Linked DNA regions of Homo sapiens: all the other regions are linked to region 1. Evidence: promoter capture Hi-C in 16 types of primary human blood cells and fetal thymus (Javierre and others, 2016). All regions are on one chromosome and are shown on one strand. Each heading gives the region's core, a stretch centred on a gene start or on the middle of the fragment in contact. The rest is flanking DNA. Distances are from core to core; before and after follow the strand shown. Region 1 holds the start of KIR2DL3 (killer cell immunoglobulin like receptor, two Ig domains and long cytoplasmic tail 3). Region 2 overlaps NLRP8 (NLR family pyrin domain containing 8). Region 3 has its middle 7.3 kb from the start of NLRP8. Region 4 overlaps NLRP13 (NLR family pyrin domain containing 13). Region 5 has its middle 39 kb from the start of NLRP13. Region 6 overlaps NLRP4 (NLR family pyrin domain containing 4). Region 7 holds the start of NLRP9 (NLR family pyrin domain containing 9).

Region 1 (3,948 bases), core at 657-3,156:
TCTGTTGTAGAGCTCAGGGACAGGCACCCCACCTTCCTTTTACAGACTGAAGTTGTTAAACCCAAGATAAGAGTGACACCGAAGAATGACATGTCCTAGAGGCACCACAAGGCTGGGCCAGGCAGACAGCAAGGGCTTGTCCTGACCACCTTGGGGAGAAGGAGGCGCCGCCTTAGAGAGGAGGATGTGGAACTGCCCTTCCCTCCCTGTGCTCAGAAGATTCTCCTCGCTTTCCACGTTTCTATGGCTACTATCACACCTTGGTGCCCAGGGCTGAAGGAAGGACCCATCCCGCAAAGACATGGTGTCTCCCTACAACAAAAGCCTCAGCTGAGAACTTTGAGCAAGTGCTGAGTAAAGAGACTCCTACTAGATTTTAATACTGTAAGATTACTCACATAAAACAACACAGGGTAGACATGAGGTGGAGGGCATGTCCTTTGTGAATGGATATCAGCGGATGCCTGAACGAAAATAAACAACTGAGCCCCCATCAGAGGATTTGGAATGTCAGGGCCATGGCTGTGGTTTCCCACCTCTTCTGGTAGAATGACAGCAGCCACACTGCAGCCCCTACCATCATGGAAACGCTGAAGTGTGTGAGTAACACCTTTGTCCTCAGAGGATCTGCTGTTCCTACCACTTCCCAACCACACACCCCAGCTTTGAGCACCCCAGTCTAACCCTGGTCCCCACAGAACTTGACTCTGCCAAGGGGTTGAGAGGCCAGGGAGGCGAGGTCAGAAATGTGGGCTGAGCACCCCAGGGTCCTCTCTTCCTAGTTTATGAGAGACTCCCCGACAGGACTTCCCTCCTGTTTCAGGAAAATCCTCTTATGTGGGGAGATGACACCCGAAGGTTTGGAGAAGGACTCACCCTCATGTGGCCAGGCCCCCTGCAGCAAGAAGAACCCTGGAAAGAAAGATCATGATGGACCATCCATCTGCAGGCAAACCAGGCCTCCCTTGCTGCCCCCACTGGGCTGTGAGTCTTGGCAGCCAGGCCCTTCCTGGGCTGAAGTTAAACTCACCCTCAGTGCCTACCTGCACCCAAGAACAGGGCTGTCGGCTGTGCAGAGACCCAGTTTCCAGGCCCATATCCCCACCCCAAGCCCATATCTCCACTCCAGGCTGATATTTCCACCCTAGGCCCATATCGCCAATCCAGGCTCAGATCTCCACCCTAGGCCCCTATCTCCAATCCAGTCCCATATCTCCGCCCCAGGCCCAGATCTCCACCCTAAGCCCATATCTCCACTCCAGGCCCATATCACCTCTCCAGTCCCATATCTCCACACCCAGGCCCATATCTCCTTCCTAGGCCCATATCTCCACTCCAGGCCCAGATATCCACCTCTAGGCCCATAACTCCACTCCTGGCCCATATCTCCACTCCAGGCCCATATCTCTACTGCAGGCCCGTATCTCCACCTCCAGACCCATATCTCCACTCCAGGCCCATATCTCCACCTCCAGGCCCATATCTCCACCTCCAGGCCCATATCTCCACTCCAGGCCCATATCTCCACTCCAGGCCCATATCTCCACTCCAGGCCCCTATCTCTACTGCAGGCCCATATCTCCATCTCCAGGCCCATATCTCCATCTCCAGGCCCATGTCTCCACTACAAGCCCATATCTCTACTGCAGGCCCATATCTCAACCTCCAGGCCCATATCTCCACTCCAGGCCCAGATCTCCACTCCAGGCCCAGATCTCCACTTCTAGGCCCATCACTCCATCTCTAGGCCCATAACTCCACTTCCAGGCCTATATCTCCAACTCTGGGCCCCGATCTCCATCCCCGCACTCCCTCCCTCGATGCCCTTCCAGGACTCACCAACACACACCATGCTGACGACCATGAGCGACATGGTGCTGTCTGTGCAGACAGGCGGCCGCGCCCCAGCTCAGCTCAGCAGCGCACAGGATGTTATTTGGCGCCCTGCCCATGCAGTTTACATGTTGACCACATCATGGGAGGGTGACGTACGCAGGCTCTTTCTACCTTGCATGAGGCCCAGTGGGTGCTCGCTCAAGAGCGGAACATGGCTTCCTGGAAATTGTTCTCACTAGAATTGACACCTTGCGTCCTTCACTACGACCAGACTCAAAAGACGTCTCAGATCCAACCTCTCATACACGAGATGATTGAATTCTGTGCTTACATTAAAGATTTTTGATGTATTTTTGTTTTTATCTGAGATTCAAACTCTTCTTCATATGTAATGTGCAAAATGTCTAACAGGTATTATTAACATTATCAGAGTAATTGTGACAAGAAGCCATTCTAATTTTCCTGCTTGAGTTTCTACTACTAAACCAGAGGCATCAGAATAGCTTGAACCTGGGAGACGGAGGTTGCAGTGAGCTGAGCTCAAGCCACTGAACTCCAGCTTGGGTGACAGAGGAAGAGTCTGTCTCAAGAAAAAAAAAAAAAGCAAACTAAATAACCTATAATAACAAATCAGAGGACTCAGGTTACCAAATTTTAAGGGGTTCTATAAGTTTATATAAAATGCAGCATCCTCATGAGAGGGGATACAGAGAACCACTGGACAGAAAACTGTGTCTAAAATACATCTGTGGATACACAGTCCCTTTATAGTTGACAAAGGCTGCCATGTAGTTTAAGGTGGAATAGAATATTTTCTCAACAAATAACACAGGACCATAGGGTTACACGTAGGAAAAAATAAATCTAAACTTATCCTCACACTATAAAAACACTTCTTATTTTTTATCTTGTTGTTGTAAATTTTTTATGCTTTATTTTTAAGATTGACAAATAAAAATTATATACCATGGTCCTTCACTATACCTGGGTGATTGGTTCCAGGATCCCCATTCAGATACCAAAATCTGCAGATGCTCAAGCCCCTTGCATGAAATGGCATAGTGAAGCTGGGCACCGTGGCTCACGCCTGTAATCCCAGCACTTTGGGAGGCTGAGCTGGGTAGATCACAAGGTCAGGAGTTCAAGACCAGCTGGTCCAACATTCTGAAACCCCATCTCTACTAAAAATATACACACAAAAAAATTTATCTGTGCATGGTGGCACGTGCCTGTAATCCTAGGGGAGGCTACTGGGGAGGCTGAGGGAAGAGAATCGCTTGAACCTGGAAGGCGGAGGTTGCAGTGAGTTGAGATCACGCCACTGCACTCCAGCCTGGGTGAGAGAGTGAGACTGTCTCAAAAAAAAAAAAAAAATAGCATAGCAATTGCATAGAACCCATGCACATCCTCCTGTATACATGAAATCATCTCTTGATTACTTATAATTCCTGACACAGCCTACACGCCACTCAATTTGTGTCGATTCAACATAGTTTTTTGCTTTTTGAAACTTCGGGGATTTTTTTTCTCAAAATATTTTTGATTTATTGCTGATTCAATAAACATGTGTAAACCCCAGAGATATGGAGGAGTGACTGTCTATTTATAGTAGTATGAAAGATGATGTGTTGATACGTGTCCCTGTGGAGATGAGACTAACAAGGCCTATGACTCTACAAATGTTTCATCGTGGAATGACTCTGCCAGCTTTCCAGATCTGCAGAGAGTAAGAATATCACTTGTTCATCTGATTCACCATCCTTGGAACCTCCTATGTGCTGCATCTTTGGATGGAAATTGGAGTCTCAGAGACAATTCAGGCTCCACCATGCTTCCAGAAGCTCAGAGTCCAGGGCTGAGAACCCAGCGGAGAACAGATGGGGTTATGTGGACGTGGTAATGATAACACCGGAAGCCTTAGGCAAGAAAAGAGTCCCATTGAAGAAACCATGAGGGCAGACATGTTTACTTGAAGAATAGAAAACTACATTGAAATTATAAAAAAAATTTATAAGTTTTACTGCTGACAGAAGGCTGAAAGATACTCTGAGGAAAGGTGGAATAGCACGTATCTAAGTGCCGTGTTAAGAGGGAGCCTCTTATATGTTTGGA
Region 2 (3,948 bases), core at 888-3,387, 1.2 Mb before region 1:
ATATATGTATATATGTATCTTTTTTTTTTTTTGAGACAGAGTCTCACTCTGTGGCCCAGGCTGGAGTACAGTGGTGTGATCTCGGCTCACTGCAAGCTCCACTTCCCAGGTTCACACCATTCTCCTGCCTCAGCCTCCCGATTAGCTGGGACTAGAGGCGCCCACCACCACGCCCAGCTAATTTTTTGTATTTTTAGTACAGACATGGTTTCACCGTGTTAGCCAGGATAGTCTCGATCTCCTGATCTCATGATCCGCCCCACCTCAGCCTCCCAAAGTGCTGGGATTATAGGCGTGAGCCACCGCGCCTGGCCACATGTATCTTTATATACATATATATGCATATATATGTATCTTTAGATACATCTTTATATACATATATATTTATATATGTATCTTTATATACATATATGTGTATATATATATCTCCTAAGTGTAAAATTCAATTTCAGACCAGTCATCTCAGATATCAGTCTAAAAGTGACAAACTCTTTGTTATCTTTTATTCAACTGGAAGAATATTTTTTAAAACAATTGTTAACACAGATTGCTGCATCCCACCCTCAGAGTTTCTGGTTCCCTAGGTCCGAAGTGGGGCCCCAAAATTTGTGTGTGTCCTGCCCAGGCGAAACTGCTGCTGATCCACACTTTGAGAACCACGGCTCAGAAGCTTCCCAGTTCTCCAATTCAATGGAGGGAACAATCCAGAAACTTAAAAAGACAGCCCTTTCCTGTTATATATTCCATCCTGAGAGACGCTTATATACAATTCTCCTGGTCTCACAGGAGGAGACGAGGGGCCACTTACTCCAGGATCTGTAATGTACAGTCAGGGTTCTTCAGGGCCTCACACAGCAGGATCACCCCATCATCCTTCAGGCTATTAAAACTTAGGTCAAGACTTTTCAGGGTTTTATTTTTACAGAGCGCAGAGATCATATCCTGACAGCAATTAAAGGTCAAGTCACACTTTCTCAGTCTGCAAAGAAACACAGGTTAAAAACAACAACAACAACAACTACAACAAAACAACAACAACAACAACAACGAAAACACCCTTAGGTTTTACTTCTTTGTTTTTGGGTTCTGTTTTTATTTGTTTGTTTTGTTTGTTTGTTTTTTGTTTTTGCATAATGGCATAACCAAGATGCAATTAATATATCACACAATTCACCCACTTAAAGTGTACCAAATATTGGTTTTCAGTCTATTTATAAAGTTGTATGATCATCACCACAATTTTAGAATATTTGTGTAAGTTCGGTTTGGAATATTTTTGTCACCCCTAAGGAAAACCCTGGATACTTTAGAAGCCACTTCTCACTTCCTCCCCCAACCCACCCCAACCCTAACACCACTAATTTGCTTTCTTTTTCTGGATTTGCCTATTTTTGGCATGTCATTTAAATGGAATCATGTAATATGTGACTTTTTGCGTTTAGCTTCTTTTATCTACCATAATATTTTGAAGATTCGTCCATGCTGTAGCATGAATCAGTATTTCATTTAACAATTAAATAACATTCCATTGCGTGAATACACCATACTGCCTTTATGCCGTCATCAGGGCACAGACACAGGTTGTTTCCAGGTCTTGGGTATTATGAGTACTATGAATAATGCTGCTGTGAACTGTGTGCAGGTTTTCATGTGGAGGTGGGTTTTTATTTCTTTTGTGGATACACCTACTAGCAGGACTGATGGCTCACGGATTAAGTCTGTGCTTCACCTTTTGAGGAACTGCCAAAGCTGCTTTCCAAAGCAGTGGCACCGTTCCCTGCTTCTTTTTGGAGAACTAACAGTATCAGTGTTTCAGGGGGTATTTTGCGCCACCTCTTGCCTTTCACAAACATTTGCTGAGAGTTACTATGCTTGGGGCATTGAATTAGGGGATGGGAATTCACGCAGGCAGAGCCCCTGCCTTTTAGCAGCTCATATTCTCATGTGAGACAAGAAATAAAGAGGGGATTCGATGGTTATGGTTCGGTGATGTCCTAGTAAACCAGCTCTCTAGAGCAAACAAACAAAAGCCCTCATGTGTAGTGATTGCCAGTTTCCATGGTGCAAACACTTCTGCCATGGCTGATTTCAAGCTGTGAAAATGAACTACCTCGTGACAGAGCAGGAGCACCGTGATCTCGGACAGACACTGGCACTTTAAGTTCCAGCTCCCTTTCTAACCTCATGCATTTCAAGGAAATCATTTCTCTCCTAATTACAAGCAGCCAGAAAGAACAGACAGTAAAACACAGATAAGACAGCTAGGGCACAGAGGGAGGTGGGGGGAAAGTCTCTCGGGTAACTGCCAAACTTCACATTCATGCCACGAGCCCCAGTAAAACAATGGGCCTTTTTTCTTTCTTTTTTTTTTTTTTTGAGACAGAGTCTCACTCTGTCGCCCAGGCTGGAGTGCAGTGGTGCGATCTTGGCTCACTGTAAGCTCTGCCTCCCGGGTTCATGCCATTCTCCTGCCTCAGCCTCCTGAGTAGCTGGGACTACAGGCGCCCGCCACTGTGCCCGGCTAATTTTTTGTATTTTTAGTAGAGACGGGGTTTCACTGTGGTCTCGATCTCCTGACCTCGTGATCCTCCCGCCTCGGACTCCCAAAGTGCTGGGATTACAGGCCTCCCAAAACAGTGAGCCTTAATAGCACATTCCTTTCCCTTCAGGTGCACTAAGATAGGGAAGCTAAAAGCAGACTCAGGGGATATGCCTGCAGCTGCAGAAGGATGTATGGGAACAGACACACAACTCTCCCTCCCAGATAAGCACAACCAAGAGTCACAGAAGCAGTCCAAGCCTCTGATAAATATTCCCACCCTGAATCTTTAAAAACTCTTAGTCTATAAGAGAGTGTAGCTCTGACCTAACTCGGCCAGAAGCCCCTCTCAGGTCTGTTTTCTCTAAAATAAACCTGTCCTTAACTGTCAAGCCACCTTTTGTGTTTCTTTCCTCTTTCTTTAATTCTTACACCTCGAGGTAGTCGTTCTTACAGTGATGAACAGATAGATCTCAATATTCCTTAAATTTAAAATACCCTGCAGTCCTTCTGAGTTCACTCCTGGGTGTCTTGGTACACAGTTTGAGAACTCTGCCTCTAGATCACTTGTCCCTGAATCAGAAATAATAACCCTCCTCTTTATTGTGCTTTTCCCCTCAGTGCTAGCACCATGCCTAACACGCAGTAGGCACTTAATAAATATGTGACATAAATGAATATATAACAGGTTCTCTTCATCACCCTGTTCTGCTCCAGGGAATTCAGAGAAGAAAACATTCTGGGACTTACACCAGCCTCTGCAGAGGACATCTCAGGTGTGGCAGGGCATTCCAAATATGCTTGGCCCCTTCATCTTTCAAGGCGTTTTCTGCCAAGCTCAGGTGGGTCAGCATCTTACTCTGCCTGAGACAGGAGGCAAGGCTTTCACAAGTAAGCTGTGTAAGGTTGCAGTTCTCTATCCTATGGGAGAGAAGCACACAGATGACTGAATGGAGAGGGGTCTTTGTCTCACACAGAAGGGTGATCTTCTCAGTCAGGGCTCTCCCTCTGGATGCAGAAGCATCCTCACACCTCTGTCATCACCACTCAGGACTTCCAAGCTTTCAAGGAAAGGACAGCAGCTTCGATGTGGGAATGGTGGGATGAAGGCATTGTGGATCAATAAAACTGATAGACTAAAAAGCTTCTGCACAGCAAAAGAAATAATCAGCAGAGTTAACAGACAGCCCACAGAGTGGGAGAAAATCTTTACAATCTATACATCTGACAAAGGACTAATATTCAGAATCTACAAAGAACAAATCAGCAAGAAAAAAAAATCCCATCAAAAAGTGGGCTAAGGACACGAATAGACAATTCCTAAAAGATACACAAATGGCCAAAAAGCAAATGGAAAAATGCTTGACATGACTAAGTATCAGGGAACTGCAAATTGAAACCTCAATGCA
Region 3 (3,948 bases), core at 931-3,430, 1.2 Mb before region 1:
GCTGTGGGATGTCTGTACATTCAAGGGAGTAGAGAAGAGAAAAGTAGTGTTGGCAAGTGAGGAAATAACAGCAGGAGAAGGGGTATAATTGAGGACACAGGCTGGGTCTGAAGTGATCTTGGCAGGAAGAGGGTGGAGAGCACACGTCCAGATGCAGGTGGTTGATGGGTCTGAGCAAGGAGTTCCTGGCCTTTCAGAGAAATGAGGGACGGCAGAATACGCCACCCCCAAATATTCCAGTTTGTTGTACTCATTCTTAAAAATTGGTACGTGATAATTGTACATATTGATGGGAAAGGCAGGTGGGAGGGGTTGGATGAAGAGCGGTTGGTTAATAGGTACAAAAATACAATGGATAGAAGGAGTAAGCTCTAGCATTTGATAGCACAGTAGTGTGACTATAGTTCATAATAATTTGTTGTGTATTTCAAACGGACTATTTTGAGCTGAAGATACTTGAGAAGGAGCAGACACAAGAAAAAATCTGTCTTCCCTTGATTTGCCTAAATGCAAGACATCAGTTTGTAAAGGTGCCCCTTTTCCCCTTCTCTACCAGGAAACACAGAAGTTAATCACCGGAGACAAGCTCCAGATGCGTACAGCAGTGCGAGGGCGCCAGAAAAATCTACACAAGAAACCTTATGAACTAGCCCTCATCCTCCATTTTCTCCCCCATACATTTACCTTCTCACAATTTACCCCCCCAGGAATTCGAGGTCTTTCTCATTTGTCTTTTCACTTCTCTGAGAATGTACTGTTCTGGCCAGGCACAGTGGCTCACGCCTGTAATCCCAGCACTTTGGGAGGCCGAGGTGGGCGGATCACCTGAGGTCAGGAGTTCGAAACCAGCCTGGCCAACATGGCAAAACCCTGTCTCCACTAAAAGTACAAAAATTAGCTGGGAGTGGTGGCGGGCACCTGTAATCCAAGCTACTCGGGAGGCTGAGACGGGAGAATTGCTTGAACCTGGGAGGCGGGGGTTACAGTGAGCCTGGGCGACAGAGTGAAACTCCGTCTCAAAAAAAAGAGAATGTATTGTTCTTTTGTTAGCATGACATATAAGCCTAAGTTCTAACCACCCCTGAGTGTTCTCATCATGGAGTGCTCCCATGGGTATGCACACATAAACTTCTGTTTGCTGTGCTTTTGTTAATCTGTCTTTCATGAGCCTAATGCACAGACTCCAGCCAAGGAATCTAAGATCAATAAAGAGAGAGCCATGGAATCTAAGATCAATAAAGAGAGAGAGAGGGAAAAGTATTTCCTTCCCTACAGAAGTATATCAGGATCATCTACACATGAAATAAGCCAGGCACAGAAAGACAAACATTGCATGTTCTCACATATTTTTGGGATCTAAAAATTAAAACAGGTTGGGCACGGTAGCTCAAGCCTGTAATTCCAGCACTTTGGGAGGCTGAGGTGGGCAGATCACTTGAGTTCAGGAGTTCGAGACCAGACTGCCCAACATGGCGAAACCCTGTCTCTACAAAAAATACAAAAATAAGCCAGCTGTGATGGCGGGTGCCTGTAATCCCAGCTACTTGGGAGGCTGAGAAACGAGAATTGCTTGAACCCGGGAGGTGGAGGTTGCAGTGAGCCGAAATCGCACCACTGCGCTCCAGCCTGGGTGACAGAGCGAGAACCTGTCTCTAAATAAATAAATATCACAACAATTGAACTCATGGATATAGAGAGTAGAAGGGTGGTGTTCAGAGGCTGGGGAGGGTTGTGGGGTGTGGGGAGGAAAGTGGGGGATGGTTAATGTGCCCAAAAAATTAGAAGGACTGAATAAGACCTTGTATTTGATAGCACAACATGGTGACTATAGTCTATGGCAATTTAATTATACATTAAAAATAACTAAAATAGTATAATTGGATTGTAACACAAAGGATAAATGTTTGAGGGGACGGATACCCCATTCTCCATCATGTGGTAATTACACATTGCATACCCGTATCAAAGCATCTCGTGTACCCCATAAATATATACCTCTACTATGTACCCAGAAAAATTAAAAATTAAAAAGCAGGCCGGGTGCGGTGGCTCATGCCTGTAATCCCAGCCCTTTGGGAGGCCGAGGCGGGCGGTTCACCTGAGGTCAGCAGGAGGAATCGCCATACTATTTTCCATTTCCCATCCCCATCAACAATGCACTAAAGTTTCATTTTCTCCACATTCTTGCCAACGCTGATTATTTTCCATTTTAAACATAGCTATTCTAGCGGGTAAACATTTTTAAAAGATAAAAGTCTGTCATCTCCATTTGGTTCTGTGGTCACGTCTTGATCACCCTAGAGTCCATATAACTCTACGTTTTGGTAAGAATTATATCCCATGAATCCCTTTCCGTCCAATTTACAAAGGAGAAAACGGAAATTGAACTAAGTTAAGTAAATTCAGCCCAAGCTGTGAGTGTTGGAAACCAGCAGGTGGAACCTGACCAAATTCCTAAGCCCACGAGCCGAGCCGTGTGGGTGACACATCTGCGTTTATTGAGAAGGAATATTTGCAGAGGGGCAGTGTCAAAGTCAGTGCTGCTTAATCCTTGCGGCTTTCTTTCTCTGTGCCTCGCGATTTCTTCTTCGCGTCTACAGCTATTTTGATTTTTTTCTAACTACATCTGTCAGTGGCTACCCTAGACCTCTGGACACCTGGAGACCCCACGACATCTCTTTCAGGTCTTAGAATTTTGCTAGTGCTATGAGTCTCCTGGCTCTCAGACCCTCAGAGCTGAAAGAAAACTTGGGAATTTAGGACTCCACTTCGGGGTCAGGAAAGCTGAGTTTCAGAGATGGGCAAGGATTTTATGAATGAGAGCTGGTTATGTTTGCAGTTGAATCTCTAGCTCTCACTTTTGATTTTCAGTATGGGCCCACTGGGTGCGCCCAACTCAAGGGTCTAGCCATTGTAACTGCAAGGAAGTGGATGATGAGGAAAAGAGTAGGTAGAAAAGAGAAAAGAACAAAACAAAACAAAACAAAGCTCACCTCTGCAGAGAATTATTCTTCCTGCTCCTTCCTGTCAAAAGCATCTCCCAAAACGGAGATCGCCTGGCCTGCCCCACCCCCCAACCCTTATAGGTGCCGGGGAATTCAGACAATTGGCACCTTCTCTTCCCATTGGCGGGGGCTGGCTCACTAGAATTCCTCTGCATTGCACCGATTGGAAGGCATTTAGCTCCCTTGATTCAGAATGAATGAGCTGCAGGTCTTGATCCTACAGGTGCTTCCGATTTGTAAAGGAAACTCTTCCCTTGCTTCTTAGGTCTAGAAGAACAAGCAACAGAAAATTACATGTTTGGAGAGCTTCCCAGTCTCCTTAGAAGGCTAACACCGTGTTCAGTCCGAAAGTGCCACTTCCCATTTGGAAACATCCAGTCATTCACGGGCTCATCTTGTTTACATGTTCATCTCTTCTACTTGGGATATAATTGTATCGAGCAAAAGGAGGGTCTCAAGATCATCAGGGCCCAGTCTAGGTCCCACATACAACGGGCCCAGTCTCAGGGAGACCCAGAGACAGAGCTTGTGGGAGAAGGAAAACTCACCAGCAGAGAGTACAAGGGAGGGGGCGTTGGGAAGGACTGGCTTGAGGAATTTTCTTTTAAAAAAATTACCACTAGTTGGCTGGGCGCGGTGGCTCACACCTGTAATCCCAGCACTTTGGGAGGCTGAGGCGGGCGAATCAGGAGGTCAGGAGATCGAGACCATCCTGGCTAATGCGGTGAAACCCCGTCTCTACTAAAAAAAATACAAAAAATTAGCTGGGCGTGGTGGCGGGCACCTGTAGTCCCAGCTACTCGGAAGGCTGAGGCAGGAGAATGGCGTGAACCCGGGAGGCGGAGCTTGCAGTGAGCTGAGATCGCGCCACTGCACTCCAGCCCGGGTGACAGAGCGAGACTCCGTCTCAAATAATAATAATAATAATAATAATAATAATAAT
Region 4 (3,948 bases), core at 371-2,870, 1.2 Mb before region 1:
CTGGATATTAGCCCTTTGAATGTATACTTTGCAAATATTTTTTCCTATCCTGCAGGTTATCTGTTCACTTGATTACTTCTTTTGCTGTGTAGAAACTTCTTAATTAAGGCATATCAGTTTATTTTTGTTTTTCTTGCATTTGTTTTTGAGGTCTTAGTCATGAATTCTTTGCCAAGGCAATGTCCAGAAAACTTTTCCCTACATTTTCTTCTAGGATTTTTACAGTTTCAGGTCTTACATTTAAATCTCTATTCCATCTTGAGTGAGCTTTTGAATATAGTGAGAGATATGGTCCAGTTTTATTCTTCTACATATGGCTAGCCAGTTTTCCCAGCACCGTTTATTGAATAGAGTGCCCTTTCCCTAGTGCGTGTTTTTATTGACTTTGCGGAAGATCAGCTAGCTGTAGGTATATAGCTTTATTTCTGGCCTCTCTATTCTGTTACATTGATCTATGTTTATTTTTGTACTAGTACCATGCTGTTTTGTTTACTATATCCTGGTAGTATAATTTGAAGTCAGGTAAGGTGATGCATACAGATTTGTCCTTTTTGCTTCTGATTGTTTTGGCTATTAGGGCTCTTTCTTGGTTCCATATGAATTTTAGGATTGTTTTCTCTAATTCTGTGAAATATGTCACTGGGAGTTTGATAGGAATTGCATTGAATTGATATATTGGAAAATATGGTCATCTTAATGACATTTATTCTTATCCACGAGCATTACTTGTGTCATCCATAATTTCTTAAGCTTTTTGTAGTTTTCCTTGTGGAGATCTTTCACCTCTTTGGTTGAATATATTCCTTAGGTGTTTTTTTTTAAGCTATTGTAAATAGATTGCCTTCTTAATTTGGTTCTCAGCTTGATCATTATGGAGTATAGAAAGGCTACTGATATTTGTACATTGCTTTATTTTAATACTAAGATTTTATGAATTCATTTATCAAATCTAGGAGTCTTTTAGAGAAGTCTTTAGAGTTTTCTAGATATAAGATCATATCAACAGATAATTTGGCTTCTTCTTTACAATTTAGATACCTTTTTATTTCTTTCTCTTGCCTGATTGCTCTGGCTATGACTAGCCAGTTTTGTGTTGAATAGGAGTGGTGAAAGTGGGCATCCTTGTCTTGTTCCAGTTCTTGGGGAGAATGCTTTCAACTGTTTCCCATTCAGTATAATGTGGGCTGTGGATTTGTCATATATGGCTTTTATTAGTTTGACATATGTTCCTTTGAAGCTTAGTTTGTTGAGGGTTTTTATCATGAAGGGATGCTGAATTTTACCAAATGCTTCTATGCATCTGTAGAGATGATCATATAGTTTTTGTTTTTAATTCTGTTTATGTGGCGAATCACATTTATTGATTTGTGAGTGTTGAACCGTCCTTGTATTCCTGGGTTAAAACCCACTTGGTCATGGTGTATTATCTTTTTTATGTGTTGTTGGATCAGTTTTCTGGTATTTTGTTGAAGATTTTTGCACTTATGTTCATCAGGGATAGTGGTCTGCAGTTGTCTTTTTGTGTCCTTGTTGAGCTTTGGCATCAGGATGATACTGGCTTAATAAAAGGAATTAGAGAGCACTCCCTCCTCTCCAACATCTTTTTCTGCAACAGTTTCAGTAGGATTGGTACCAGTTCTTCTTTGTATGTCTTGTAGAATTTGGTTGTGAAATACATCTGGTACTGGGATTTTTTTGTTATTAATTTTTTAAATTACTGATTCACTCACTCCTTGTTGTTGATCTGTTCAGGATTTATATTTATTCCTGATTCAATCTTGGTAGGTTGTATGTTCCCAGAAATTTATCTATTTCTTCTTGGGTTTTTAGTTTGTGAGTATAGAGTTGTCCATAGTAGTCTCTGATCATCTGTATTTCTGTTGGCTCAGTTGTAATGTTTCCTTTTTCATTTCTGATTGTTTGTTTGAATCTTCTCTTCTTTCATTAGTTAGTATAGCTAGCCATCTATCAATCTTGTTTATTTTTTAAAGTAACCAAGCTTTGGTTTTACTGATTCTTTGTATTGTTATTTTGGTCTCTATTTCTGCTCTGATTTGTTATTTTTCTTCTAGCTTTGGGTTTGATTTGTTCTTATTCTTTTTCCTTGAGTTGCATTGTTAGGTTGTTAATTTGTGATTTTTTTTTAAATGTAAGCATTTAATGCTATAAACTTTTTTTTTTTTTTTGCTGTATCACAGAGGTTTTGATATGTTGTGTCTCCATTTTCATTAGTTTCAAAAAACTTAATTTCTGTCTTAATTTTGTCATTGACCTAAAGATTGTTTAGGAGCAGTTGTTTAATTTCTGTGCATTTGCATAGTTTCAGGAGTTTCTCTTGAGATTGATTTCTAGTTTTATTTCACTGTAGTCTGAGAAAAATACTTGATATAATTTCCATTTTTAAAAAATTTATTGAGCCTTGTTTTGTAGCCTAACATACGGTCTATTTCAAGGAATGTTCCATGCACTGATGAGAAGAATATATATTCTGCAGTTGAGTAGAAGGTTCTGTAAATGTGTGTCAGTTTCATTTGGTCTAAAGTCCAATTTAAGTTCAGACTTCCTTTGTTGATTTTCTGTCTTGATGATCTGTCTAGTGCTGTCAGTGGGGTGTTGAAGTCTCCCACTATTATTATTTTGCTGTCTTTAGGTCTAATAATATTTGTTTTATGAATCTAGGTACTCTGGTATGGATGTATATATGTTTAGGATTATTATATCTTCTTGAATTGATCCCTTTATCATTATATAAAAATCTTCTTTGCCTTTTTTTAAACTGTTGCTGGTTGAAAGTCTTTCAACTAATATAAGTATAGCTACTCCAGTTTGCTTTTTGTGAAGCAAAGGGGGAAAAGTGGAATCTTTTTCTACACCTTTACCTTCAGTCTATAGTGAAGTAAGATGAGTTTTTTTTTAAGCAGCATATATTTGGCTTATGTTTTAAAATCTATTCCTCCAATTTATATCTTTTAAGAAGCGCATTTAATCCATGTATATTGAAGGTTAATATTGATATATGACCTTTTTTCCAGTTACAATGTTGATTTCCATTTGCTTTGCAGATTTTTTTGTTCTTTTTCTTTGTGATTTGATGGAATTGTGTCATGCTATCATTTGATTTCTTTCTCCTTTGTGTAATTGCTTTATAAGACTGGTGTATTTTATAGTTTTGTGTGTTTTTGTGATGGCAAGTATCAACCTTTTTAGTTCCATGTTTAGAACTCCTTCAAGTATTTCCTGTAGTACAAGTCTAGTAGTGACAAATTCCCTCAGTGTTTGCTTGTCTGAAAAAGACTTTATTTCTTCATTTATAAAGCTTATTGTAGAAGGATACAAAACTTGGGGTTAACAGTTTATTTCTTTAAACAAAAAACCTTTGAAATTCCAATTCCTTCTAGCTTGTAAGATTTCTGCTGAGAAGTCTGCTGTTAGTCTGATGGGTTTTGCTTCATAGGTGACTAGATTATTTTCTCTTACTGATTTTTTTTAGGACGTTTTTTCCTTCACATTAAACTTAGTCTGATGAATAAATATCATAGTGAGGCCCTTCTTGCAATGCATTTTTTTTGGAGTTCATTAATCCTCTTATATTTGGATGCCTGGATCTCTTGCCAGAGTAGGGAAGTTTTTCTCAATTATTTCCACAACAGGTTTTTAAAACTTTTTGCTCTTTCTTCTCCCTCAGGAATGCCTATGATTCATAGGTTCCAACATTGTATGTAGTCCCACGCCTTTTGAAGTCTTTGTTCATTTTCTTAAAATCCTGTTTATTTTTGTCAGACTAAATTAATTCAAAAGACCTTCAAGTTCTGAGATTCTTTCCTCTTCTTTGTCTAATCTGTTGTTGAAACTTTCAGCTATATTTTGTAACTTCAATGAATTTTTCACTTGCAGAAGTTTTATTTGATTTTTCTCTCAAAAATATCTCTTTGATAAATTTCTCATTCA
Region 5 (3,948 bases), core at 392-2,891, 1.2 Mb before region 1:
TGTAGCCACGAGCGGCATCTCATCATTGGGCACTTGAAACATGGTTAGTGTGACTGGGAACTGAATTAGTAGTTTTCTTTTTTCTTTCACCTTTTTTGAGACAGTGTCTCGCTCTGTCACCCAGGCTAGAGTGCAGTTGTGTCATCTTGATTCACTGCAACCTCCACCTCCCGGGTTTAAGCAATTTTCCTGCCTCAGCCTCCCGAGTAGCTGGAGCTACAGGCACCCACCACCACGCCCAGCTAATTTTTGTATTTTTGTAGAGATGGGGGTTTCACCGTAGTGGCCAGGCTGGTCTTGAACTCCTGACCTCAGGTGATCCACCCACCTCGGCGTCTCAAAGTGCTGGGATTACAGGCATGAGCCACCATGCCCGGACTGTTTTTTCTTTTCTTTTTTGAGATGGAGTCTTGCTCTGTCACCCAGGCTGGAGTGCAGTGGCGCAATCTCAGTTCACTACAACCTCCCCATCCTGGTTCAAGTGATTCTCTTGGCTCAGCCTTCCCAGTAGCTGGGACTACAGGTGCATGCCACTACGCCTGGCTAATTTTCTTTTTCTTTTCTTTCTTTTTTTTTTTTTTAACATACTTTTAGTAGACACGGGGGTTTCACCATGTTGGCCCGCCTCCCAAAGTGCTGCGATTACAGGCGTGAGCCACTGCTCCTGGCCACCAGCCTATTTTAATATAAATATAAATTTTTAATTTTATTAGGTTGGTACAAAGTAATTTTGGTGTTTGCTATTACTTTTAATGCAGTGGTTTTAAAGTAATGGTTTTTGCTGTCACTTTTAGTGGCAAAAATGGCAATTACTTTTGCATCAACCTACTAATTAAATCTTAACAGCCACATGTCGCTAATGACTACCGTACTGGATGGTGCAGTCCTGGAGACTTTTGGGTATTTTGAGAGCCTGCTTCTGTTTATCATTCTTGTACCTACTGTACGTGTCACTCCATAGCCATTAACTTGTGGCTTCTTTTTCAATACCGACTCTGGGCCAAGCACCATGGCATGGTAGACAGGGGGGAAACAAACGGACATGAGCCTTGTCCTTGAGAGTCTTGAGTTCTCCTCCAGGAGATAACAGGTCTGAGACATAAAAGCAATCTCTGTTGTCATGAATGCTGTGAAAGAAACTCTGGGTTGAGATAAGACAGGAGGGTGACCAGAATAGCAAGGGGCTTGCCAGAGGCGGTACCATTGATCCTGAGTCCCAAGGAGGCTGGAAGGAGGAGTCCCTATATCAGGAAGGGAACATGAGAGGTGACTAGAGATGAAGGGTGGAATGTACTGAGGATGTTTCAGTAGCATGTGCAAAGGCCCTGAGGTTGCACCAAGCTTTATGTTGCCCCTTTGAGGCACTGAGAGAAGAGCATTTAATTAGAACACTTTCCACCCCATTCAGTATTCTGAGAGGAAATCAGAAAGGTAAGCAGGTTGGCTGCAGTTGCTCATGCCTATAATTCCAGCACTTTGAGAGGCCAAGGCAGGAGGATCACTTGAGGCCAGGAGTTCAAGACCAGCATGGGCAACATAGGCAGATCCTGTCTCTACAAAAATTTTAAAAAATTGGCTTGGCATGGTGGCACACACCTGTGTTCCCAGCAACTTGGGAGGCTGAGGTGGGAAGACTGCCTGAACCCAGGAGTTTGAGGCTGTAGTGAGCCATGATCATGCACTCCAGCCTGGGTAACAGAGCAAGACCCTGTCTCAAAAAAAAAAAAAAAAAAAAAGTTGGGGCATGGAGAAAGGTAAGCAGTTAACAGCTGTTACTGGTACATCTCAGCAGAAGTCATCCCAGATGCCAAGGAACCTTGCCTACTTTAGGAAGTGAGTCACGATCTGCACCTTTTAAAGATTTGATGTTGCCAACTTCACACTTCAGTGGTGCATTTTAAAAAGGGTTCTGGGACAGCAACCGTTAAAGATGAAGCTTCTCTGCTGTCTATCATGCATGTGTGCAGAAGGGGCTTCTGACTGGGTGCCCAGACCCTCGCCTCCTCTTGTAGAACGCTCAGATTTTATTTTTCAAAAATTGCTAGATGCAGATTAATGAGAAGTACTTGGATTTATTCATACACAGTGAAAATGGCCTGAGTTACTCTGGCCTGCCCACAAGGTCCCTTGTGTCATCTGCGCCATGGTTTTCTCATCCTCTACCTTTGTGGTTGTGCCTTTTCTCTATGGAAAGGGGTTCCCGTGCCATCAAATCTTCTCCCTGACATCTGTGGGTAAGGCTAGGGTGGTGGGAGGTCCCAGTCGAAGGGTAAACAAAAGTTACCCTTCATTTGTTAGTCTTTCTGTAGGTAGGTGCCAAAGTAATTGTGTTTGCTATTACTTTTAATGCAGTGGTTTTAAAGTAATGGTTTTTGCCATTACTTTTTTTTTGAGATGGAGTTTCACTCTTGTTGCCCACACAGGAGTGCAATGGCGTGATCTCGGCTCACCGCACCCTCCGCCTCCCAGGTTCAAGCGATTCTCTTGCCTCAGCCTCCCGAGTAGCCTGGATTACAGGCACGTGCCACCACACCCAGCTAACTTGGTATTTTTAGTAGAGATGGGGTTTCTCCATGTTGGTCAGGCTGGTCTAGAACTGCCGACCTCAGGTAATTCACCTGCCTCAGCCTCCCAAAGTGCTGGGATTACAGGTGTGAGCCACCATGCCTGGCCGCCATTACTTTTAATGGCAAAAATGGCAATTACTTTTGTCTAAACCTTTATTATGCTTTATATCAGTTTGCCACTTTACACTGCACCCTGCCTGTACTTCACTGCTTCCATCCAGTCTGCTGTTGATGAGCACCTAGGTTGGTTCCATGTCAATGCTATTGTGAACAGTGCTGTGAGGAACACACACATGCATGTGGTCCACATACACCATGGAGTACTACACTGCTCTAAAAAGGAATGAAACCATGTCCTTTGTGGCAACATGGACGCAGCTGAGGGCTATTAGCCTAAGTGAACTAATGCAGGAACAGAAAACCACATACCACATGTTCTCACAAGTTGGAGCTAAACAATCAGTACATGTGGATTTAAAGATGGTGACAGTAGGCCAGGCATGGTGGCTCATGCCTCTAATTCCAGCACTTTGGGAGGCCGAGGTGGGCAGATCACCTGAGGTCAGGAGTTCGAGACCAGCCTGGCCAACATGGTGAAACCCCATCTCTACTAAAAATACAAAAATTAGCCGGCGTGGTGGTGTGCGCCTATAATCCCAGCTATTCAGGAGCCTAAGGCAGGAGAATCGCTGGGGCCCAGGAGGTGGAGGGTGCAGTGAGCCGAGATCACGCCACTGCACTCCAGCCTGGGTGACAAAGTGACACTGCGTCTCAAACAATACGTATATGTGTATGTGTGTATGTATATGAATATGTGTGTGTGTATGTGTGTGTATATACATATATACACATATATTTGTTGACAAGACACGGGACTACTAGGAGGAGGAGAGTAGGAAGGAGGCAAGGGTTAAAGTACTTTCAGGTGCTATACTCACTACCTGGGTGATGGGATCATTCACACACCAAACTTCATGCCACACAGTAGACCCATGTAACAAACCTGTACGTGTTCCCCTGAACCTTAAAAATTAAAAATTACTTCTAAACTTCTTCACTGCTTCTAAACTTCAGTACTTCTTATTTTGCAGGCTTCAAAAAGACCTGCACAATGTAGTGAGAGAGGAGATACAGACCTCACAGAAGGAGCTCTGTCTGAAACTCAAGTGTGCGTGGGATTTTAATGACCTTGAAGACAAGTGGTGGTGGTGATCCCACGGATTAGATGCCACGTGGCTTGACCATGGATCTTGGGGGAAAGCCACCAGGACATCCTGGCCTGTGTGTCGCTCCAATGTCACCATTTGTGGGGACAAATGAGCTGTTCCCTGCAGGAGGCTTTGTCACGGTTGTTGGAGGCCGCCCATTGCACGCCCAGGTC
Region 6 (3,948 bases), core at 378-2,877, 1.1 Mb before region 1:
TACCCAGGAGGTTGAGGCACAAGAATCACTTGAACTCGGGAAGCAGAGATTGCAGTGAGCTGAGATCGCACCACTGCACTCCAGCCTGGGCGACAAAGTGAGAGACTGTCTCAAAACACACACTATGCCATTTTACATTAGGAACTTGAGCATCTACAGATTTTGGACTCCTCAGGGGAAATCTGTAGCCAACCTCCTATGGATATGGAGGGACAACTGAATTGTCTCAGCATCGTTTGTTGGAGGTCTATCCTCTCTCTGCACCAGTGATACGCTATTCCATGATGCGACATCTGAACACACGTGGATCAGTCTGTTTCTGAGATCTCTATTCTGTGTCTCTGGTCTGTCTGCTTATCCCTGTGTGAATCTCATGCTTTTTTAATTTCTAAAACTTTAGATGACACATTTAGAGCAAGAGTTCCTACATTATTTTTATTTGAGACGGAGTTTCACTCCTGTTGTCCAGGCTGGAATGCAACGGCACAATCTCAGCTCACTGCAACCTCTGCCTCACGGGTTCAGGTGATTCTCCTGCCTCAGCCTCCTGAGTAGCTGGTATTACAGGCATCCACCATCATACCCAGCTAATTCTGTATTTTTTTTTTTTTCAGTAGAGACGGGGTTTCACTATGTTGGTCAAGCTGGTCTTGAACTCCTGACCTCAGGTGATCCACCCACCTGAGCCTCCCAAAGTGCTGAGATTACAGGCGTGAGCCACCGCGCCTGGCCCACTTTTTATATTTTAGGTGTTTCTTAGGTATTCTTGGCCTCTTGCAAGTTCCATACACATTTTAAAATTTACTTTTCAAGTTCAACTCAATCACCAAACAAAAACATCGCATTTTCACTGGGATTTCATGAAAGCAAATGAATTCAACTTACAGAAAACTGACTTTTTAGATACTGAATATTTCAATCTTTGAATATAACATTGTTTTATACCATAATTTGATCATATTCTCTATAAAAGTCTCACATATATCACAGTAGCTATTTCTAGGTAATTTCTTTTTTATGTTACTGTAAAAGGTACTTTTATTTAATTCCACTAGCTTATTACTTCTTGTTGGTATATCAGTAACTGTTTTTGATATATTGTTTCAAGCAAGCTTGTTAGACTAATTCTGATAACTTAGCTACAGATTTTCTTGGATTTTTCTATGTACATTCAAATCATCTGTATAGAATTAGGTGTTTCTTCAAAGATTACAGGTTTAGTGTTTTTCTTACCTTGAAGCATTTGCTAAGATTTTCAGGACACTGTTGACTAGAAGTGATTATAGCCACCGTTCTTATCTTTTTCATGATATTGAAGAGAAAGCTTTTCTCTCATCATTAGACAAATGTTTGCTTTAGATTTTTTTGAACATATTCTTTAGATCATCAAGGAAGTTCCCAAATAGTTTTTCAAGAATTGTATGTCTTAATTCAAACTTTTCTGCATTTTAGATCATGATTTTTATTTTTAACCAGTAAAGTGATTTACATTGATTTTTTTACTAATCTTTTTAATGTTAAAGCAACTTTACATTTTGGGGATAAGCCCAACTTAGTCATTATGTTTATTCTTTTAATACATTTATGGATTCTGCTTGCTAATATTCTGTTCAGTGTTTTTGCATTTCATGAATGACACTAGCCTTTAATTCTGCTTTCTTACAAAAATTGTAAGGATTATATTACAACCAATAAAATTCTTATTGGTTTCTGGCATCAAGATTATGCTAGCCACAAAAAATGGTGGGGAGTTTCTCCTCTTCTGATCCTGAAAAAGCTGATGTAAGAGTGGAATTATTTATTCTTTGAATGTCTGGTAAGAATCACCAATGAAGGCTTCTAAGCCTGGAATTTTCTATATAAAAAGATTTGACTGATTCATTTTTCTTTTGTCTTGAGTACATTTAGGTTCTATCATTTTAGAAGCTTATTGAGTCTTGAAAATATCTAAATTTTCAAGTTTATTGTGTAAAGTTGCTCATATGTAATCTTTTTAATATCTGTAGCATCTGTAGTAATGTTTCTTTTCCCATTCTTGACATAGACCTGCACTCTTCAGTGTGATAGCCAGCCACGTGTGACCACTGAGCACTTGGAATGTAGCTTGTCTGAATCTAGATGTGCCATAGTATAAAATACATAGTGAACCTTAGAGAGTTAATACAAAAAAGTAAAATCTCTCATTAGTAATTTTTTGTACTGATTACATATTGAAGTGATGTTTGATATATGGCTAAATAAACTATATTATTAAAATTAGTTTCAAATATTTACTTATAAAATTACTTTCAAATATTACATCACTTTTAATATGGCTACTTGAAAATTTAATATTACATGTGTGGCTTGCATTATATTCTATAGGATGGCATTAACAAAAACTGTTTTTTCCAAGAACCACCCTGCAGGTTTCTGATCTTTTCCATTGTGATTTTTGTTTCATTAGTTTCTGTCCTTATTTTTATTTCCTTCCATCCTTTAGGGGGTTTATTTTACCATTAAAAAAATCCTTAAGTTCATTATTCTTTAGATTCCTTTTAAAATATATACATGCACTACAGCTCCATCTGAGTTTGTTGCAAAGTATATTCCTTTTTCATTTCAACATATGTTCTAATTTCCATTATGATTTCTCTTAGATTCCTGGACTCTATATGGGAAGTAATTATGTTCACCTTGTAAGATTTAAAGTTCAACTGAGTAGGAAGATAATTTAAAAATTAGCATGAACCGAATAATACTTTGTCTTAAATTCTATTTTGTCTGATTCATACAGTTGCGTAAGCTTCCTTTTAATATTTGCGTGGTCTTTTTTTCTATCCTTTCATTTTCATCATTTTATTGAGGTAAAATTTACTTAAGATTAACTATATTAAAGTGAACAGTTCAGTGGCACTTACTACAGTTCACAATGTTGTACAACCACAACCTCACGTTTTAATAAGTAACTTATAAACATTAGTTACGTTTTAATATGGCAATCTTTTAGCTGAAACATTTAATCTGTTCGTTTAATTACTAGCATATTTGAATTCAAATATATATCTTGTTTCATATTTTCTTACCTGTTCAATTTTTGTTTCCTTGTTCTTTTTTGGATCGGGAATTTTTTAATCATTCTGTCTCCTCTTTTCTGCTAATTTGAGTATTCACCTTAATTTACCCCTTTATATTTTGTTATGGCTGTTGTATATTTTTTCCATTAAATCTTCAAGATGGTATTATTTTTATACACAATCCACATTTTGTTTAGATTTATCCAGAGATCTACCCCTCTCTTTGCTCTATCTCTCTTCCATCTGGAATGATTTACTTCTGTCTAAGGAACAGTCTTTAGAATTACTTTTAGGAAGGATCTGGTGGTAAGAAACTTGGTATTTATTTGAAAATGTGTTTTTATCCTCATTCTTGATAGTTTTTGGTGGCTATAGAATTCTAGGTTGACAATCCACCCTCCCGTCTCCCCGCCATACTGAATATCTCACTGTACTGCCCTCTGGTTTCCACTATTACTCTTCACCCAAGTCTGTCTCCTTTCTTGTAGATATCACTTTCCCCCGCCCCAAGCTCCCAGCCCCTTGTTAAATCTTTACAGACCAACATCTTTATATCTGGTGTTCTGCAGTTTCTCCACTATTTATCCTGTTAAGCGCTTATTTGGATGCTTGAATCTGAATTGGAATCTTTCATTGGTTACAGAAAAATTTCAGTCTTCTTAAAATATTTTCTCTTTCCGCGATTCCCAGTAAGTGTGTTAGAACATCTTAATCATCTAAGTCTTATACCCTCTTCTATGATTTACCTATTTTTCTGTTTTCATGCTGCTTTCTAGGTAATTGTAACCTATCTTCCATTTTACTAATTTTTTCTTTAATTATGTCTAATCTACTATTCACCCCATATAGTCAGTTATTATATTTATAATTTCTAGTTGTATTATTTGCTCAT
Region 7 (3,948 bases), core at 387-2,886, 1.0 Mb before region 1:
TTTATACGTCACTAGGATACAAGGGTTCCAGTTTCTCTACCTTCTCATCAACACTTGTTTTGAATTTTTTTTTTTTTGTAGTTACCATCTTAGTGGATGTGAAGGATTATCTCATTGTAGTTGTGATCTGTATTTCCCTAATGGTTAGTGACGTTGAGCCTCTTTTTATGTGCTTATTGGCTATGGACCATTTGTATATCTTTGGAGAAATGTCTATTCTAGTCCTTTTCTCATTGTTATAAGATTGTTTTGTTATTGAGTTTTAGGCATTCCCTGTAATCTGGATTTTAATCCCTGTGAGATACATGCTTTGCAAATATTTTCTCCCATTCTGTTGGTTGACTTTTTACTCTTTTGATATCGTCTTTGTTTTTGAGACAGAGTCTCGCTCTGTCACCCAGGCTGGAGTGTAGCGGTGTGATCTCAGCTTGCTGCAGCCTCCGCCTCCCGAGCAGCTGGGATTACAGGTGTCTGCCACCACGCCTGGCTAATTTTTGTATTTTTAGTAGGGACAGGGTTTCACCATGTGGGCCATGGGTCTCAAACTCCTGGCCTCAAGTGATCCACCTGCTGCGGCCTCCCAAAGTGCTGGGATTACAGGCATGAACCACCGCACCTGGCTGATACTGTCTTTTGATGCACAAAATTTTAAAATTTTTATAAAGTCCAGTTTGTCTATTTTTTTCTTTTGTCTGTGTCATGTCATATTCAAGAAATAATCCAGACCAAATCTGTGTCTGGAAGCTTCTGCCCTACATTTTCTCCTAGGAGTTTTATACTTTGGGCCTTCCATTTAGATCTTCTTCAATCCATTTTGCATTAATTTTTGTTTATGGTATTAAGGGTCCAAGTTTATTCTTTTGCATGTGACCATAGATGGTATGTAACCTTTGCTAATGGTTTGTAATTATCTGAAAGGTATATTAGCTCAGATACAATGATATTGCGTTTGTCATCATCTCCTTATGTGTAAAGTGGTATTCCCAGGTGCACATATGCTCATGAGTTCTAGATCTTGGGGAACTGAATCTTGGTGTTCAAAAATTCTTAGTCCATTTAGTGCTTTCTAGCTTGAGTGTTTTTCAATGCTGATATTTTATACTATTAATACTTTTTTGGGTAAGAATTTGCCAGGCTTTTTCTTCTTCTGTTTTACTTCTCTGTGTATTTTCTAGGATTCTCTTATAAACAGCATATAGCAGGATTTGTATTTATCCAATGTGAGTCTATATATTAGTGAGCAATTTTATTTCATTCATATGTGTTAAGATTATATTTAGGCTGGGCGCAGTGGCTCAAGCCTATAATCCCAGCACTTTGGGAGGCTGAGGCAGGTGGATCACCTGAGGTCAGGAGTTCGAGACCAGCCTGGCCAACATGGTGAAACCCCATCTCTACTAAAAATACAAAAAAAAAAAATTAGCCGGGCATGGTGGCAGGTGCCTGTAATCCCAGCTACTTGGGAGGACGAGGCAGGAGAATCATTTGAACCTGGGAGGCAGAGGTTGCAGTGAGCTGAGGTCATACCATTGCATTCTAGTCTGGGCAACAAGAGTGAAACTCTATCTCAAAATACATATCTATATATATTTGGTATTATTTTTGCCACCTGTCTTATTTTGTCTACCATATATTTCTACTTCATTTCCTGTCTTTTGTTGAATTGCAATGATTATCTGAAGGGTTTATAATACTGGGAACGTTCACTGCTCTGTTTCTGTCTGAGTTGTCTGCAGATGCTAACCTATAGTAAATCTAACTTTTTCCTTATATACTGTAATAAGAAGGCATATACCGGCCGGGCACGGTGGCTCATGCCTGTAATCCCAGCACTTTGGGAGGCCGAGGCGGGTGGATCACGAGGTCAGGAGATCGAGACCATCCTGGCGAACACAGTAAAACCCCATCTCTACTAAAAATACAAAAAAATTAGCCGGGTGTGGTGGCAGGCACCTGTAGTCCCAGCTACTCAGGAGGCTGAGGCAGGAGAATGACGTGAACCCGGGAGGCAGAGCTTGCAGTGAGCCGAGATTGCGCTACTGCACTCCAGCCTGGGCATCAGAGCGAGACTCTGTCTCAAAAAAAAAAAAAAAAAAGAAGGCATATACCACTAAACGATAAAAAAAAATTTAAATTTGCTTTTATGTCCTCTTCCTTTATTTTCATCTTCCTGAATGTGATCATCTGTAATTTTAATATCCGTTCATTTTTTCATTATCAAAATTGGATTAGACTATACTAAGGATGGGAAGGTCTACAGAGCAAACAAACTCATAGAATGCTGGTAGGAATGTCAGTAATTATATACACAAGGGAAAACCGTTGAGTGTTATGTAGCAAACATGGTGACCTGTGTTTGCTGTTTGACCTATAATTTATAAATCTAGAGAAATGTGTGCTTATATACACCAAACTACACAAAAACACTTGTTCCTGGAAGCATCATTTATGTCAGACAAAAACAAGACACATAAGTGGCAGTCAACTCTACCATTCACATGCATTTGTTTGGAAAAAGATGAAGCTTCTTCCCTAGATGATGTTTGGTGCAAGCTACGCATGATGATATCAATAATTTTGAGCTGCTTTCAGCTGCTGAAGCTTAACTCTGTAATCATGTCATTCTTCTCCAGGTATCATTTATTCTTTATTTTTGAGGATCTTTCTTTTCCCTCTGGAGACACCTCAGTTCACAATCCTGGGGCGATATGGCAGAATCTTTTTTTTCGGATTTTGGCTTGTTGTGGTATCTGAAGGAGCTCAGAAAGGAAGAGTTTTGGAAATTTAAGGAGCTCCTCAAACAACCTTTGGAGAAATTTGAACTCAAGCCAATCCCCTGGGCTGAGCTGAAGAAGGCCTCCAAAGAAGATGTAGCAAAGCTGCTGGACAAACATTACCCAGGAAAGCAGGCATGGGAGGTAACACTGAACCTGTTTCTACAGATCAATAGGAAAGATCTCTGGACAAAGGCTCAGGAAGAGATGAGAAGTAAGTGCTGGATGATGGGGCGAGGACCCATGGGGGAAGCCTGGGAACAAGGTGATAGCATTGTTAAATGAGTGGCCACCCCCTCCATCAGATGAGAATGTGTGTGGGTCAAGGTGAGAGTTGAAGGTAGGAAGAGTTGCAGGCCAGGGCTGTTCATATGTGGGCCAGCGATGAACTGGGGACAGATGGCGTCCTGATACCAACTGTTCACCTATGGAGTGTCTTCCCATTTTTCCACCCCAAGTGGAGTCGTTGTTATAGGAGATGAGTGGCCAGTTAGTGTCTGCATTGCCAGGTCTACTGAGATGGAATTCTAGTATGGTAGTTGCCTATCTTTTTTTTTTTTTTTTTTTTTTTTTTAGAGAAAGGGTCTTGCCATGTTGCTCAGGCTGGTCTTGAACTCCCAGGCTCAAGTGATCCACCTGCCTAGGCATCCCAAAGTGCTGTGATTACAGGAGTGAGCCACCATGCCTAACTGCCTGTCCTTTTTGACCAGACATGTACCAAGGAGTAGGTAGAATCTTAAGACAATCAGACAGCGTATGTCCCGGGTACTACAGGAAGCATTCTTGCGAGCTTGTTTGGAGGTTCTAGTAGGGGAGCACAGCTTCTCTTCTGCCCGCGATGGAAGGACCTTCCTCTATGGGCAAAGGTTGTCATCGTCTTTGACCCAGGGGAGACTTTCAGGACGGACGCATATGGAGCAGTGAGGGAGGAAGTGGACACCCACCCAGCTGGCCACATCAGCCGAATTAGCCCTGGGGCGACCAATGGGGTGACAGACATCACAGCCAGGTTGTCCTCACGTCCTGGAAGCATTCTTTCTGCATAATGTCTTTTCATTCTTATCACAACCCAGGAAAGGTTTACAAGTGAGAAAACTGGACAAAACAGTGTTCCCATGTGTTACATGACTTTTCCAAAAGTGACAGATCTGACTCCGAACCAGTTCTGCTGGAC

What was found. The method cuts DNA at HindIII sites, captures the fragments that hold promoters and counts their contacts. A CHiCAGO score of 5 or more calls a contact.
Region 2: a contact is called between a fragment that was not itself captured here and the fragment with the promoter of KIR2DL3 in region 1, in 1 of 17 cell types (non-activated CD4 T cells). The highest score is 5.5, in non-activated CD4 T cells.
Region 3: a fragment that was not itself captured here is called in contact with the fragment with the promoter of KIR2DL3 in region 1 in 1 of 17 cell types (non-activated CD4 T cells); the score reaches 5.4 in non-activated CD4 T cells.
Region 4: a contact is called between a fragment that was not itself captured here and the fragment with the promoter of KIR2DL3 in region 1, in 5 of 17 cell types (total CD4 T cells, non-activated CD4 T cells, naive CD4 T cells and 2 more). The highest score is 8.2, in total CD4 T cells.
Region 5: a contact is called between a fragment that was not itself captured here and the fragment with the promoter of KIR2DL3 in region 1, in 1 of 17 cell types (naive CD8 T cells). The highest score is 6.4, in naive CD8 T cells.
Region 6: a fragment that was not itself captured here is called in contact with the fragment with the promoter of KIR2DL3 in region 1 in 4 of 17 cell types (non-activated CD4 T cells, activated CD4 T cells, total CD4 T cells and 1 more); the score reaches 6.4 in non-activated CD4 T cells.
Region 7: a contact is called between a fragment that was not itself captured here and the fragment with the promoter of KIR2DL3 in region 1, in 1 of 17 cell types (non-activated CD4 T cells). The highest score is 5.8, in non-activated CD4 T cells.

The regions. Positions count from the first base shown.
Region 1 is chr19:54,736,471-54,740,418 of GRCh38, reverse strand. It overlaps KIR2DL3 (killer cell immunoglobulin like receptor, two Ig domains and long cytoplasmic tail 3), which reads right to left and starts at 1,906. Exons shown (of 8, transcript NM_015868.3): 1 at 1,840-1,906; 2 at 877-912. The coding sequence starts at 1,873. It overlaps KIR3DL3 (killer cell immunoglobulin like receptor, three Ig domains and long cytoplasmic tail 3), which reads right to left. Exons shown (of 8, transcript NM_153443.5): 8 at 3,787-3,948. RefSeq lists an enhancer at 3,853-3,948. The HindIII fragment of the contact is 12,642 bases long and covers 1-3,948 here.
Region 2 is chr19:55,973,164-55,977,111 of GRCh38, reverse strand. It overlaps NLRP8 (NLR family pyrin domain containing 8), which reads right to left. Exons shown (of 10, transcript NM_001433706.1): 7 at 3,290-3,460; 8 at 809-979. Among named protein-coding and RNA genes, the nearest start is that of NLRP5, 12 kb to the left of the region's middle. The HindIII fragment of the contact is 2,930 bases long and covers 673-3,602 here.
Region 3 is chr19:55,938,600-55,942,547 of GRCh38, reverse strand. No RefSeq gene overlaps it. Among named protein-coding and RNA genes, the nearest start is that of NLRP8, 7.3 kb to the left of the region's middle. The HindIII fragment of the contact is 7,001 bases long and covers 1-3,948 here.
Region 4 is chr19:55,916,492-55,920,439 of GRCh38, reverse strand. The region is part of intron 4 of NLRP13 (NLR family pyrin domain containing 13); the gene reads left to right. Among named protein-coding and RNA genes, the nearest start is that of NLRP13, 14 kb to the left of the region's middle. The HindIII fragment of the contact is 762 bases long and covers 1,240-2,001 here.
Region 5 is chr19:55,891,832-55,895,779 of GRCh38, reverse strand. It overlaps a transcript of NLRP13 not described here. Among named protein-coding and RNA genes, the nearest start is that of NLRP13, 39 kb to the left of the region's middle. The HindIII fragment of the contact is 595 bases long and covers 1,344-1,938 here.
Region 6 is chr19:55,872,531-55,876,478 of GRCh38, reverse strand. All of the region lies in intron 7 of NLRP4 (NLR family pyrin domain containing 4), which reads right to left. Among named protein-coding and RNA genes, the nearest start is that of NLRP4, 38 kb to the right of the region's middle. The HindIII fragment of the contact is 602 bases long and covers 1,327-1,928 here.
Region 7 is chr19:55,737,135-55,741,082 of GRCh38, reverse strand. NLRP9 (NLR family pyrin domain containing 9) reads left to right here and starts at 2,681. Exons shown (of 9, transcript NM_176820.4): 1 at 2,681-2,988. The coding sequence starts at 2,709. It also overlaps the pseudogene RN7SKP109. The HindIII fragment of the contact is 1,780 bases long and covers 747-2,526 here.